Linked DNA regions of Homo sapiens: region 1 is linked to region 2. The links are contacts of gene promoters, found by promoter capture Hi-C in human tissues and cell types (Jung and others, 2019). All regions are on one chromosome and are shown on one strand. The core of a region is centred on a gene start or on the middle of the fragment in contact, and the rest is flanking DNA. Distances in the headings are between cores, read along the strand shown. Region 1 has its middle 35 kb from the start of SNORA38B. Region 2 holds the start of NOL11 (nucleolar protein 11).

The links. The method cuts DNA at HindIII sites, captures the fragments that hold promoters and counts their contacts. A contact is called where the count stands out against the background at its distance.
Region 1: a fragment that was not itself captured here is called in contact with the fragment with the promoter of NOL11 in region 2 in 1 of the 25 tissues and cell types used here (lymphoblastoid cells).

What each region holds. Positions count from the first base shown.
Region 1 is chr17:67,774,150-67,776,863 of GRCh38, reverse strand. It overlaps the pseudogene RPSAP67. Among named protein-coding and RNA genes, the nearest start is that of SNORA38B, 35 kb to the right of the region's middle. The HindIII fragment of the contact is 7,192 bases long and covers 1-2,714 here.
Region 2 is chr17:67,716,486-67,719,185 of GRCh38, reverse strand. It overlaps NOL11 (nucleolar protein 11), which reads right to left and starts at 1,250. Exons shown (of 18, transcript NM_015462.5): 1 at 1,098-1,250. The coding sequence starts at 1,238. It overlaps LOC101928045 (a long non-coding RNA gene), which reads left to right and starts at 1,508. Exons shown (of 4, transcript NR_188294.1): 1 at 1,508-1,544. RefSeq lists enhancers at 1-77, 1,000-1,189, 1,260-1,339 and a silencer at 640-729. The HindIII fragment of the contact is 26,229 bases long and covers 1-2,700 here.

The sequences.
Region 1 (2,714 bases), core at 135-2,634, 58 kb before region 2:
CAACAAATAAAAACAACTGGAGATGACCTGAGAGAAGCTTGTGCCGGCCACTCATGCCACTGTGGCCTTCGAAAACCCAGCTGTTTCCCGTGTCATACCCTCCAGGAATACTAGCCAGCGGGCTGTGCTGAAGTTTGCTGCTGCCACTGAAGCCGCTCTCACTGCTGGCCACTTCACTCTTGGAACCTTCACTAACCAGATCCAGACAGCCTTCTGGGAGCCACGTCTTCTTTTTTTTTTTTTTTTGAGATGGAGTCTCGCTCGGTTGCCCAGGCTGGAGTGCAGGGGCGCGATCTCGGCTCACTGCAAGCTCCACCTCCCGGGTTCACGCCATTCTCCTGCCTCAGCCTCCCGAGTAGGTGGGACTACAGGCACCCGCCACCACACCTGGCTAATTTTTTGTATTTTTAGTAGAGACGGGGTTTCACCATGTTAGCCAGGTTGGTCTCGATCTCCTGACCTCGTGATCCACCCATCTCGGCCTCCCAAAGTGCTGGGATTACAGGCGTGAGCCACCGCGCCCGGCCTGGGAGCCACGTCTTCTGATGGTTACTGATCCTGGGGCTGACCACCAGCCTGTCACAGAAGTGTTTCATGGTAACCGGCCTACCATGGCTCTTGGTCACAAAGATTCTCCTTGACACTGCGTGGACACTGCCATCCCAAGCAACGAGAAAGGAGCTCCTGAGTGGGTCTGCTGTGGTGGGTGCTGGCAGGGAAGTTCTGTACATGTGTAACACCATCTCCTGTGATCACCATAGGATCTCATGCCTGAGCTCTACTTCTGCAGAGATTCTAAAGATATTATAGGCTGGGCACAGTGGCTCACGCCTGTAATCCCAACACTTTGGGAGGTCAAGGCGGGTGGATCACTTGAGGTCAGGAGTTCGAGACTAGCCTGGCTAACATGGCAAAACCCCATCTCTACCAAAAATACAAAAATTAGCCAGGTGTGGTGGCATGCACTTGTAGTCCCAGCTACTAGGGAGGCTGAGGTGGGAGAATCCCTTGAAAACAGGAGGCAGAGGTTGCAGTGAGCCGAGATGGTGACGCTACCCTCCAGCCTGGGTGACAGAGCAAGACTTGGTCTTCAAAAAAAAAAAAGATATTTTAAACCAAAAATAAAATTCTAAGGCCTCCCAACCATCTGAATGGACCCGTCCTCTTGGCCATGGGCATTCCAGAGTTACCTGAAAATCCAGTTCAGGTCATGATGGAAGAGGGGGGTTGGACATGGCTCCTTATACCCTTCCAGCATTAACACCAACACAGACCTTAAGTCTCATAAGAAATATCTGTATTCTGTCTAAAGCCTGCTACTTGGAGGCTTCATCTGTATGAAATAACCTAGGTGTCCAGGGGTCCACAACCTCTTATTCTAACCCAGACATTCCTTTCTACTGATAATAACTTTCAACCAATTGCCAATCAGAACATTTTTAAGTCTACTTATTACCTGAAAGCACCCCTCACCCTTTGAGTTGTCCCACCCTTTGCGTTGTCCTACCCTTCCAGATCAAACCAGTGTAAATCTTACATGTATTGATTGATGTCTCATGTCTCCCTAAAATTTATAAAAGCAAGCTGTACCCCGACCACCTACATGTCATCAGGACCTCCTGAGGCTATGTCACAGCATGTTCTTAACTTTGGCAAAATAAACTTTCTAGGCCAGGCACGGTGGCTCACGCCTGTAATGCTAGCGCTTTGGGAGGCCGAGGTGGGCAGATCACCTGAGGTCAGGAGTTCAAGACCAGCCTGGCCAAAATGGTGAAACTCTGTCTCTACTAAAAATACAAAAATTAGCCAGGCGTTTTGGTGGGCGCCTGTAATCCCAGCTACTCAGGAGGCTGAGGCAGGAGAATTGCTGGAAACCTGGAGGCAGAGTCTACAGTGAGACAAGATTGCACCACTGCACTCCAGCCTGAGCAACAGAGTGAGACTGTCTCAAAAAAAAAAAAAAAAACAAAAACAAACAAACTTTCTAAGTTGACTGAGACCTGTCTCAGATATTTTGGGTTGACAATACTGAAAAAGAACAGGTCACTGCTGAAAGGCAGTGACCAAGAAGGACCTTAAGAGCAAATGAACTGCCATCCGAGGTTGCAGACTTGTCTGAAGGTGTGCAGGTGCTCTCTGTCCCTGTTAAGTAGGTCCCTACTGAAGAACACAGCACTCAGACTGCCACTGAAGATGGGTCTAGACCAGGTGCAGCGGCTCATGCCTGTAATCCTACTATTTTGGGAGGTCGAGGTGAACAGGTCGCTTGAACCCAGGAGTTCAAAACCAGCCTGAGCAACCTGGCAAAACCCCATCTCTACAAAAAACACAAAAATTAGCCGGGTGTGGTGGTGCCAGCCTGTGGTCCCAGCTACTTGGGGGGCTGAGGTGGGAGGATCACTTGCGCCCAGGAGGTCAAGGCTGCAGTGAGGCATAATTTCACTACTGCACTCCAGCCTGGGTGACAGAGCGAGACCCTGTCTCAAAAAAAAGAAGAAAAAAAAAGACCAAAATGGTGAAACCCCATCTCTACTAAAAATACAAAAATTAGGCCAGGCGCGGTGGCTCACGCCTGTAATCCCAGCACTTTGGGAGGCAGAGGCGGGCGGATCACGAGGTCAGGAGATCGAGACCATCCTGGCTAACACAGTGAAACGCTGTCTCTACTAAAAATACAAAAAATTAGCCGGGCGTGGTGGCGGGAGCCTGTAGGT
Region 2 (2,700 bases), core at 1-2,500:
CTCAAGTGATCCACCCACCTGGGCCTCCCGAAGTTCTGGGATTACAGGCGTGAACCACCGCGTCCGGCCAAACCTCTAAAAGGGTAGTTAAAATGAAAATATAACTAAGTTCCTAAATAAGTAAATAAGCAACCCTTTGTTAAAAAAACAATAGTACATTTAAAAATTGATTATATTATGCCTCTGCATGGGAAGTTATGCCTCTGAACAGCGGCATGGGAAATTAAGTAGGGACATCTGGGATCATGTCTATCCAATTCCAATCTGCCATTGTATTCCTATGCAGGAGCTGCAAAACTGCAAATCTACTTGACATCCCAAGTGAAACCCAATAGAGTTAGCAGAGTCAAAACGGCACAGGGAGCTGTTAGCAACCTGTTCTCAAAACGTCAAAGCAGATACCTAACTTCTTTAAAACATGGAAAACTATGTTCAGCAGCCCAGAGAAAAGTAACTGCTTTCTATGCGACCACCAAAAGCAAGGTTAGAAAGTGTTCTCTATCAGGCTTTAGGCTGAAATGGGGGCAGGGCTTGCAGATTTTCCCAGGACTCAACTCCAGGATTCCCAGCGTGAATCAGAGATGCCAACAGACAACTCACTTGGAGGCAAGATTCTTAGCGAGCTATCAAGAAAGTCCCTCACTCTCTAAAATTGTCCCCGCCCCTACAAAGAGAGGGGTGTGAAGTGTAGACACGGCTAAACCACTATTCCCACTCTGTCAGTGTCATCCTCTCCCGCCCAACCAATCTCCGTTCCATCCTCCCGCGGGCGGCTAAGATAATAAAGACCCTAGGAGGGAATCTTAGCAAGGCCAATTCCGCGAGTTCCGAAGCAAAAGCACAGGTTTTCTTTCTTTTCCGAGTCTAACCCACGTGCACTCAGACGCTCTGCCCCTGCAAGTCGGAAATATGCCTTTACAGGAAGGCAAGCAAGCCAGATTCCAGACCTCACTCAGCGTCCCCAACAGGCCCAGCCGGCTCTCTGCTAAGCCTTCTCCACGATCTCTTTCTGAAGCTGTGAGAAACTTGAGCTCGAGCTCCGCGCTCAGAAAGGGGCGAGAAGGCAGTCGGGGCGCTCCCAAACCTATTGCCTTCACCTTATAGAGGATGACTGTCCTGCCGCTGTCTGTCACTAGAAACTGGTCTGTTTTGTCGCTCTGCTCCACGCCTAGGAGTCCTTCAGGCCCGGCGCTCAGGACTACCGAAGACAACGTGAATTCTTCCTCCAGCGCTGCCATTTTGAGCAAACCTAAGTACGGCCGCGCTCACTCCCGGCAGGCCTCGCGCTTTCTCTCGCGAGAATGAACGGGCCTGAGGGGGCGAGTGCTTGCCAAACCAGGAACCTGCTCTCGCAGCCTGCGACCTCTGGCGGGCGGAAGGAGCGAGCGCGACTGTGAATTTAGCCAGGTGGGCTGGGCCGGCTTGCGTCAGACTCCGCCTCCCGAGACCACGCCTCGCCGAGTCCCGGATGTGCTCCAGGAAGGGATAGGGTAGGCGCGGAAGTGCTGCTTACTGGGTCCTGAATCGGCTGCGTGCTGTTCTAGGTGGGGACTTGAGAGACTGTAGATGGGTCTAGGGAGTGGTCGAATATAAATAAGCTAGATTTTTTTTTTTTTAATTGCAAGGGAACTCCCTAGGAATTCCATCCATGGCCTTGTGGAACGATCTGCCAAAGAAAAAATATTTATCTCTGTAGGTAAACTCCCAATAACGTGCTGTTCCTACGTGAAATGCTTAATTCCCCCCAAGTTTCTTGGAACCCTCTAGAGATCTCCAGTCTTTTCAGTCTTTCAGGCCTTCTGAGTTCTCTGACTCCCCTTCTCTGAGCCCCAGTGGGGAAAATCTCTCCTCAGCTTACAGGAAATTCAGACTAGTTTGATGAAGGTGAAGTTGAAGGTCCCCTGTGTGATTTTTGGCAAGGTTTTTATTTCCGGGAGAAATGTATGTTTCTCAGATAAGCATGGCAGATTCAATCAATAATGTTAAATAAATAAGTAAAGATAAATTGTGATGTTCTTAGGGAGAAACCATTTAATAGGCAATTACTAAACAAATGTACCCAGTGTGACAAAGTGCCTCAGTTTAGATTTAAGCATCCACCAGATCGCCATGTGTGTTGTTTCTCATTGCCCCAACATGACGACATGGGCAAAAGGAGAATATCCAGCTACTGTGAAGGAATCAAATGCAGTCTATTTTTATAATGCTAATAGGTCTTTTGTTGTTCAAAAGTAGTGGCATTATCATGGCTCACTGCAGCCTCTAACTCTTGGGCTAAATAAAGCAATCCTCCTGCTTCAGCCTCCCGAATAACTGGGACTACAGGCATCCATCACCACGCCCGGCTAATTTTTGTATTTTTTGCAGACATGGAGTCTTGCTTTGTTGCCCAAGGTGATCTTGAACTCTGATAATCTTTTAATTTTTAGGCTGGGTTGTGAGATCAAGAGGATATAGTTTATTATTATGCTTCATAACTTACTTTGTGATAGGTGGTAAGAAGAAAAACATTAAACTCAGAAGGGAGAGATAAAGCGTGGGTGTGTGGGGGAGGAAGGAGTGGTCTGTGTATGTGAAATTTTCACTAGGATGACCACAGGCCTCCTTGAGAGGATGTCTTTTTTTTTTTTTTTTTTTTTTTGAGACAGGGTCTTGCTCTGTCGCCCAGGCTGGAGTGACGCAGTCTCAACTCACTGCAAT